Linked DNA regions of Homo sapiens: all the other regions are linked to region 3. Evidence: promoter capture Hi-C in human tissues and cell types (Jung and others, 2019). All regions are on one chromosome and are shown on one strand. The core of a region is centred on a gene start or on the middle of the fragment in contact, and the rest is flanking DNA. Distances in the headings are between cores, read along the strand shown. Region 1 overlaps SCN2B (sodium voltage-gated channel beta subunit 2). Region 2 overlaps SMIM35 (small integral membrane protein 35). Region 3 holds the start of KMT2A (lysine methyltransferase 2A).

Region 1 (3,087 bases), core at 582-3,081, 260 kb before region 3:
AGGCAGGCCCGCCAGCAGGGAATTGTACCATTTAAAGGAACCTCCATACAAGGGGGGCCCACAATCTTCCTGGTTGTCCCATTTGAGACCAGGTCTGGGGCCTGTGTCTCCTGATTTTCAACTCACAGAAGGGAAAAGATCATCAACGGGATGAGGCTTCTGATCTTAGATCCAAAACCTCAGCAGTGGCGGGCCACCCGCTGTCTCCAAGGCACATCTGGGCCCTCAGGCCTCGTGTCATCCACTGTTCTAACTAGCCCATCTTGCAGAGACTATAAAAATTTGCTCATCTGCCAAATGCTGTCTCTTGCAGAGACTGGAAGTTAATCTCTTCACTCCTCTTTCCACCCTACAGCAACCTATGAGGTAATTATTTTCTTCTTGGTTTTTTTTTTTTTTTTTAAGTGTCTAAACAGATGAACTGTCTCCCGGGGCAGCCCCTGCCTCCCAGGTGAGTGTGGCATCCAGCCCGTATCTCCGCACCTGCACTGCCTTACCATCCAGACCCTTCCTGCTCAAGGGCCTCCCCAACCCCGGCCACTCCAGTCCATCCCCGTGCAGCCAGGAGCAACCCACCCTCATCACTCCTCACCTCCAGACCTCCAACGGCTACCCACTGCTTTCAGGATCAAGTCCAGGCTCCTGGGCACAGCTTCCAAGCCCTTTGGCATCTGGGACCAACCTATACCCTAGCCTCATCCCCTGCCAGCCCCCATCCCCCCAGGTCTCCTTCACTCCAGTGACCCCAGTTCTGATTTTTTCTGAAAACACCACCTTCCTTCCCTTCTCCATGCCTTTGCACGTATTTTTGCTTCAGGTTGAGAAGCTCATTTGCCCTCCTGCCCCTGGGCCCCTCCTACTTATTCTTCAGGTCCCAGCTTACAGGGCATTAGCCTCGGTGACTGTTTCCCCATTGTCCTTGTCCTCACCCCAGCCCTGTTCCTATCTCTTCCACATGACTTGAGGGCAGAATGGCAGGATAGTTAACCTCCCAGTGCCTCAGTTTCCTCATCTGTAATATAGGGGACAATAAGCCCAACTTCATAGGGCTGTCGAAGGATTAAATGACTTACTACCTGTATGAAGCTCAGCACAGTGCCTAGCACATGGCCTGGACAAAAGTCAGCTGCGACTATGATGAGCATTATTGCTATTATTGTTGCCATACATACAATGTTGTCTTGTTATTATTTGTTCATGGGCCTGTTTCCCTCTAGAGGCTCCGGGGAACTGACTCCTATTCATCTTGGTATCCCTGGCACCCAGGACAGTGTGTGGCAGAGTGGGGACTCAATAAAGTCTACTAAAGGAAGAAGAGACAGCTTTCTCTCCATGTCTGGGTCCCCACCACCACAAGCAGCAGATATGTGCAGTGGGCTAGAGTGAGGACTAGACTTCACTTTCTTTCTTTCTTTCTTTCTTTCTTTTTTTAAGAGACAGGGTTTGGTTCTGCTGCCCACGCTGGAGTGCAGAGGCATGATCACGGCTCACTGCAGCCTGGAACTCTTGATACTCCTTCTTCAGCCTCCTGGAACAGTTAGGACTACAGGTACATGCCACCATGCCTGGCTTATTTTTCTTTTCTTTTTTTTTTTTTTTTTTTTTTTTTTTTTGTAGAGACAGGGTCTTGCTATGTTGTCCAGGCTGGTCTCCAATTCCTGGCCTCAAGCGATCCTCCCACCTCGGCCTCCCAAAGCACTGGGATACAGGCGTGAGCCACCATGCTCAGCCCAGACTCCACTTTCTATGCCTCCACTAACATAATCCATACATTGGTAAGCAGGCCAGTGACTGTGGAGTCAACGGTCTCAAGAAAAACTTGAGGGAAGCCCAGTCATTTGAATTGTTTCTGGCTAAAACTAGCCTCATATGCTTCTGCCGTGGGTAGAGCTGGTTGCCCACCTGCCCTTTCTCTTTGCCACCTCCATAGTCATCCCCACAAGCCCAGCCCCGACAGAGTCCCCTCCCTCGTCACTTGTGGCATCCTCCATCCTGGGGATCGATGCTACTGCAACACCACCAAAGTTCCACTGTCAACTCGGCCCTCAGCATTGGAGTGCCAGGGACATGCCTCATTACAGCACCAATCAAGTTCAAGTTCAAGGTCCCCATTCCTGCATCCTCTCCCACTCAGCTTTGCAGAAGCTTTAGCTTCCTCCCACTACCATCTCCCCACCCCAAACACTCAGACCTCTTCATCGCAGACTCCCTCTTCCTCACCCTAGCCCAGAGCTCTGGGTCCTGGTCACTGAGCCCCCTTTCTATCTTTACTTAGCCATGGCTCTCACCAGGCGGCTTCTCTCCTGCACGAAGTGCTTCCTAACTCCTGAGGAAAGGGTCCTGTCCTCCAGCTGGGCCTCCTTACAACAGGCCACTCACCCAACTCCCCTTCTTTCAGCCTGTCCTGAGACTCTGATCAATTAGGTACTGTTAATATAGCAGTGCCATTTCTTGAACATTGGGGAGTGGAATCCAACGTTTAAGAGAATGTGCTGAAGTCAGACACAGGGAGTTCAAATTTCAGCTCCCGTTACCATAGTCATCTGTTTCCTCCCTGTAACCTGAGTATAATAGAATCTACCTCCGATTGCTGTGAGGGCTAAACAAGATACACAGTGCCTGGGCTCACGAAAAGCATTCTTATGTTAGCCATCGTTGAGTTCCTGCCATGCACCAAATCACAAACACGTCAGGCAGTAGGCATTCTTTAGTTTACCCGGGAGGGAACTGAAGCTCAGAGGGGTTGAGTAACTTGCCTGTGATCATTACGTAAATGACAAAGGTGGCTTGAAACCCAGGTCCTGCCAGAGATTCCATAGCATTCCTGCTCTGATGTTAATATGCCAAGTAACTCAGCAAAGCAGGCTGGCAGGGCCTCTGCACTGTCTGTGTTTAGCACTCCTACTCCAAACCCAGCACATCACACCACAGAAAGAGAGAGAGCCTTTGTGGTGGGGAATAGTTCCATCAACAGTCCTTGGACTTGACTCTCAGTTGCTGCTCCAGCAATAAGTAAGTTTAGGAGCAAGAATGAAACTCTACAAAGCAGGCTTGCAAATAACTTTCTAGCCCACTTCCCCACCAGGA
Region 2 (2,976 bases), core at 396-2,895, 430 kb before region 3:
GTTTTTAGAAATATAATAATGATCCTCCCATCTGCTCCCACTTTGAGTTTCTCAGACCCCTGGAGCAGAGAGTGGAGCACCAGAGACTCTGGCCTCCTGGCTCCTGGCACCAGGCCCCCTCCAATGCCACTGGCATGGGACAAGACCATTAAGATTTGAAGAAGAACCTAGAGGAGAGAAAAGCTCCCTCTTCACCTGCCAGCCTTGTCACGGTTTTGATCATTCCTTAGGTTATCCTTTAAGATAGAAAAATCGTCATCTGTGTGCTCTCTCTCAGAAATGTAACTGATCATGAGCACAAGGTTGAATGTAGTCAAGGATGGGGAGAGATCAAAAGTTTTGGTTTTCAGAGCACCTAGGATTGCACCAGGGATGAAGCAATGCCCAAGATGTTCTGAAGAGAGATTTCAACACAATTTCCTGAGAAGTTCCTGGCTATGGCCAGAGCCATGCAAAGTACCGTGGAGAACTCAGAAGAGGTTTAAAACCTGATTCTGCCTGCAAGAAATGCCCATCAAATAGGAGAAAGCAAGGTTAATTTCAGGGAGACTGGATGCCCCCATGGTGCCTAGCATAGTTCCTGGCATGTTATGGAAGCAGCGTGAATAAATGAATGCAAAGAAATAATCAATAATAAAGTTATGGGGGCCTGAGACTATCTGTATTTAAAATCAGCAGAGCACAAGATCCATGGGTCTTACAGAAGTCTCCCTGGAGAAGGGAAATTTGAGCTGGCATGAAGAATGGGCAGAATTTGGTGATTTGGAGGTCAAGGAAGTTCTAAAAAAACAAAAGGAAGAAAGAGGAGTGGGTCAGTGGGAAGCTCAGAGCTGAGGATGGGGCCTGGGGAGGACTGGGCTCCTGAGCGCCCTTCTCACCACACAAGGAGACCCCAAAAAGAGATTAGAGACCATCTGGAGGGAGGAGTATGTTCTTGGGGGCCAAGGATGTTAGGATAGCTGCCAGTTTGGACTGAGGCTAGAAGTGGGTGACAAAGGACTATAAAGAAAATAGATTCTTGCTTGGCCTTGAACAAATCACTTCACGGCACTCTGGGCCTCTGTTCCCTCACCTGTGAGGCTGTGAGGATGAAGACGCGCATCATAAGCCTCTGCCCTGCACTGATATGTGCTCAGCAAATGTTAGCGTTTCACCCTACAGGTAAAGTTGGTTGGGAATGGGCCAGACTTGGAACCTGGTCAGACACACGCAGAGTCAAGGAAAGGCTAAGTAATGCTTAGAATCCTAGACCACTAGGGAACTGCAGCCATCACCTTTCAACTGCCATCTCCTAAATTAGAAAGATATATTGACACTTTGTACTTGCATCTTTTAATTGTTTACTGAGCACCTACTATGGACCAGGCTATACGCTAAGAACTGAGAATGCAGACGCTTTAAAAAAAAAAAAAAAAAAAGTAGATGAGGTCTTTGCTCTCCTACAGGTAAGAACCAGGAGAAGCCTTGGAAAAATAGTCCAATCTTTTGATTCCAGATGCTGAAATAGATGTCCAAAGAGGTGGAGTAAGTAGCCCATGACCACACAGCACATCAGGGCAGGGTCAGAACCAGACCTTATACTACATTCAGTTCTCATCCTTACGCCCTGATGTCAGCTACATCCGTGAGGGTGCAGACTCTGCTCAGCTCTGGTGCAGCCAGTAGCCAGTTGTGGAACTTGGGTAAAGCATGCTGCTTTTCTGACCCAAGTGCCCCCATATGTAAAACGGGACCAAGAATAATCCCTGTGTCTCAAGCTTGACATAAGGCTCAAAATGCAGTACCATGCAAGAAAAGGCTTTGTGTTCTGTGGACTGTGAACTGTGCAAACAGTCTCTGCTCCTCCTTTTGATCACTAAGCAGTTTTTAAAAAGATAATAATGATCCTCCCATCTGCTCCTACTTTGAGTTTCTCAGACTCCTGAAGCAGAGAGAGGGGCACCAGAGACACTGCCCTCCTGGCTCCTGGCACCTGGCCCCCTCCAATGCCACTGGCATGGGACGAGATCATTAAGACTTCAAGGAGAACTTAGAGGAGAGAAAAGCTCCCTCTTCGCCTCCCAGCCTCATCATGATTTTGATCAATTTTCTAGGACAAAGCAGCCTTCTGTGGCTACATTGGGTGTCTCTTCTCTACTCGGCAAGTAGTCACTGACCTCCTCCAGCACGCTCCAGTTTTAGGAGTTACTAAAGACCTATGGAACATAACTTTGTTGGCAGAGGGTTCAGCCTGGTTGAGGAACAGCACAAATGGAGGAAATGTGGCCACCTGCAATTCAGATCAAAATGGTTGGTGTCAAGTCTCAAGCCCTGAGCGAAGTCACAGCAAAGACGGACTTGGGCCATCTCACAGAGACTAGATATGGCCAGGAGGGGAGGGGCTGCAGGGACAAGAGGCCACCCAGGCTGGAGAATAGCCCCAGAGAAGGCACCAAAGCGTGGCAGGGGAACCCGGACCAGCCAGCCCTTGGACCCCCAGCCCCCGTGACTGCCTCTGGGCTCTTAGGGCCAGTGGAAAGAAGAACCGTAAAAAGGTAGCGGGAAGGTGTTGGGAGAGGCTCTGGCACTGCTATGATCTGGGTCCCAGCCAGTGCCTGGCTCAGCCAAACCTGTGGCTGGGTTTCCAGGCATCTGCTCCCGAATCGTTTCTAAACAAGCTGGAATCTGCCCTTTAGAGCCCTCAACAGAAACACGCAAAGTCCAGGGGTAAGGCCCAGGCCCCAAGGGTGAAGAAAGCTGTGCTCGCCAGTAGCCTGCGGAAGTAAGGAAAAGAGGGGGAGGCTGAGGGGACAGAGGGTGCGTCAGAGGGCCCTAAAAGAGGAAGTCGCCCAGTATCAGTTCTGCTCCCGAGGATGGGAAATACCCTCCGTGCTCCCAGCCCCGGGCAGCTGTCCCCGTCTCCTCACCTGAAGCCACAGACCTGGGGCCAGGGCCACCTGGGTCCTGGGTCCCATCCTCCCTTTCAAGATTCCCCAA
Region 3 (2,955 bases), core at 92-2,591:
CCGGGGCCTGCAGGCTGTGTATCGATCCCCCAGCCTCAGCCAACGCAAGTTCTCCCGACACAAACCCCTCCCTACCCTCTCGGCTTTCCCAGCCTTGCAGGCGTCTAACGCTATGCTCGAGGCGCCCTCCCCTCTTTCCCGCAATAAAGTAAACCCGGTGGATATTCATTCCCCTCCCTAACTCGCCTCCTTCTTTCCCCCTCCCCCCTCAGCTTACTAACCCCGCGCACAGAGCTCGCCGCCGGCGGGCCCCTTCCACCCAGTGTATCATAATGCCCAACGCTCTCCTCCTCCCCCTCTCTTAATCAGAAACGTGCTCGCGAGCCCCCCTCCCTCTGCGTGCATACATTAGGGTCTGCTTTGCATGCAGCGGCAGGCAGAGACCGGAGGAAGAAGGGGCGGGGGCGCTTTTGCCCGCCTCTTCCCTCCAGGCCCCGTTAGCCACCCAGCTTCAGCTTCGTTGTAACACCGCGTCGTTAGCGGAGCACGCCGTGGCCTCAGTGCCCGGGCTGGAGAAACACAACCCAACTCCCTGCAGAAGGGCACGAAAGCCAGACGAGTGCACAGTAGAGCGAGGAGGTGGCAGGAGACCTGCCACTCGGTGTGTGCTTTTTGGAAAGAGCTCCAGCATGAAAATGGGAGGGGCTCCTTTTTTATTTTTTAAAGTGCGTTCATTGAGGGCCTTTCTGTTTTGCATATAGTAAACTGGGCAGCGCTTCTGTTTTGCATGTAGTACAATAAGGGCTCTTTTATTCTAGAAGCGTTCAATTCGGGCTAACCCATCTTGTATCCGTGCCCTGGGGCGGAGGAGAAGGCTCACTGCTCCCCGACCCAGCCGCCGCGTTATACTGGAAGCTGCTCTCCCGGGCTGTTCGATTCCCAGCGCGTCCCGGGAACGTGTGTAATCGGCCTCTCGGCGCTCAAGGCTGCAGGCGGCCCGGCTCCCTACGCCTCCATCCTCCGCGTAGTCCTCGCCCCCTCCCCCTCTCTCCGGAACCCGCGCTCTGCTCCGGGCTCCCGGGCTTCCTTCCCCCCTCCTTTTCCCGAGCAATGCCTCTCCCGGAGGGCGGGGCATGCAGTTATCCAGGTTGCGGGGCCGGCGGGCGGGCAGGAGGCGGCGGCCCGGGCCTCGGGATGGAGTTGCAGCGCCCAGGCGTCAGAGGCGGAGGCCCGAGGCCGCTATACAGATTGCGGGGCTGGCGGGCGCGGCCCGGCGCTCTGCATAGCGGCCGGCAGGGTGCAGGCGGCCGGGCGGCGCAGAGCTGGTTAGGCAGGTTCCGGGGCCCCGTGCCCCCCCCTCCGCCTCCCCGCCCCCCTGTGTTGTCGCCTCTCCCTCTCGCTGCTTCACTTCACGGGGCGAACATGGCGCACAGCTGTCGGTGGCGCTTCCCCGCCCGACCCGGGACCACCGGGGGCGGCGGCGGCGGGGGGCGCCGGGGCCTAGGGGGCGCCCCGCGGCAACGCGTCCCGGCCCTGCTGCTTCCCCCCGGGCCCCCGGTCGGCGGTGGCGGCCCCGGGGCGCCCCCCTCCCCCCCGGCTGTGGCGGCCGCGGCGGCGGCGGCGGGAAGCAGCGGGGCTGGGGTTCCAGGGGGAGCGGCCGCCGCCTCAGCAGCCTCCTCGTCGTCCGCCTCGTCTTCGTCTTCGTCATCGTCCTCAGCCTCTTCAGGGCCGGCCCTGCTCCGGGTGGGCCCGGGCTTCGACGCGGCGCTGCAGGTCTCGGCCGCCATCGGCACCAACCTGCGCCGGTTCCGGGCCGTGTTTGGGGAGAGCGGCGGGGGAGGCGGCAGCGGAGAGGTAAGGGGGCGAGGAACCCCCAGGTCCGGGGTCTCGACCCTCTGCGGAGCCCCCTCCCCTCCCCCATCCGGGATTGAGGAGCATCCCAATTCTGGGACCATCTCGGGGTCCCTGACCCGGGGCGAATGGCTCTCCCATCTTGGGACCCCCATGCAGGGCTGCAGACCCCCAGGCGCCCCCACCCCGGGGTTTGGGCCCATCTGGCTGAGGGCGTTTGCCCCCCGCTCTCCTCCCCCTGACCCTTCCCCAAATCCCTTGGCACAGACCCCCTCGCCGGGGTTTCCCATCCCGGGACTGAACCCCTCCTCCCTTTCACAGATTACCTCATCCGAGCAAGATTCCTCCCTCCCTCCCTCCTAGAGACCTGATCCCGCCACATCCCCGCCTCCCTCTCTGGGCAGATGTGTTACTCCTAGGGCAGTTTTCCTCTCGGGCGTCTCTCGGGTGATGGCCTCATCCAGGGCCACGTTCTCCTGGCCCTTGGGGATCGTGTCCCTTCCAGCACCTTGCTTTCGAAAACCCGATGAACCCTCGCGCCATCCCCGGGCCAGGTCCCTATACTGCCAGCCACTCCCCCTTCCTTCACCTCCACCCTCTACCCCCACCCCAAGCAGACCGATCCTCCCCCATCCCGCCCTACCCCACCGGGGAAAATCTCTCCTCTGCACCTTGCCTGGTCTCACCTCCTTTCCCTCTGAAGATAACGGTGATTCCTCATACAGCAGTCTCTTCCCCCCCCCGCCCCGTCTTACAGGGCTACAGTTTCTAGCCTATTGGTAGCCGGGAATTACTCTACCTTCACTCCACCCTTTCCCTCCTTTAGAATGAAGGATTAGTGGCATCTTGGAGGGGAAAATAGTCCACTGTCCCCTAGGCTTAGAGAAGAGCAGCTTTCCACCACTCCCCTTGGAGAGGAGGCAGGCTTTCCCTCCAGCTCTGGGGAAGGGGGCCCCTGTGAGGGGAGGTGTTTGTTGGGGGACTGAGGCAGCATCCTCCCAGGGGAAGCAGCTGCTCTCCTACCCCACCCACTGCGCCTGAGAGCACGCAGTCTCCAACCCGAGCTCCCTCCCGCCCTTCTCTTCTCGTCATTTCATTATTGATCCACCTTTTCCTAGGCCAATCCTGGGGCTTGGAAGGGGTGGGGGAAGCCAGGTTGGGGTG

What was found. The method cuts DNA at HindIII sites, captures the fragments that hold promoters and counts their contacts. A contact is called where the count stands out against the background at its distance.
Region 1: a fragment that was not itself captured here is called in contact with the fragment with the promoter of KMT2A in region 3 in 3 of the 25 tissues and cell types used here (IMR-90 fibroblasts, dorsolateral prefrontal cortex and spleen).
Region 2: a contact is called between a fragment that was not itself captured here and the fragment with the promoter of KMT2A in region 3, in 1 of the 25 tissues and cell types used here (spleen).

Annotation. Positions count from the first base shown.
Region 1 is chr11:118,172,508-118,175,594 of GRCh38, forward strand. All of the region lies in intron 1 of SCN2B (sodium voltage-gated channel beta subunit 2), which reads right to left. Among named protein-coding and RNA genes, the nearest start is that of SCN2B, 2.6 kb to the right of the region's middle. The HindIII fragment of the contact is 3,855 bases long and covers 1-3,087 here.
Region 2 is chr11:118,008,327-118,011,302 of GRCh38, forward strand. The region is part of intron 4 of SMIM35 (small integral membrane protein 35); the gene reads right to left. Among named protein-coding and RNA genes, the nearest start is that of IL10RA, 23 kb to the left of the region's middle. RefSeq lists a silencer at 1,590-1,639 and enhancers at 2,164-2,263, 2,409-2,909. The HindIII fragment of the contact is 3,617 bases long and covers 1-2,976 here.
Region 3 is chr11:118,435,151-118,438,105 of GRCh38, forward strand. KMT2A (lysine methyltransferase 2A) reads left to right here and starts at 1,342. Exons shown (of 36, transcript NM_001197104.2): 1 at 1,342-1,794. The coding sequence starts at 1,363. RefSeq lists enhancers at 314-1,311, 511-650, 1,312-2,310, 2,311-2,955 and a silencer at 961-1,440. The HindIII fragment of the contact is 10,858 bases long and covers 1-2,955 here.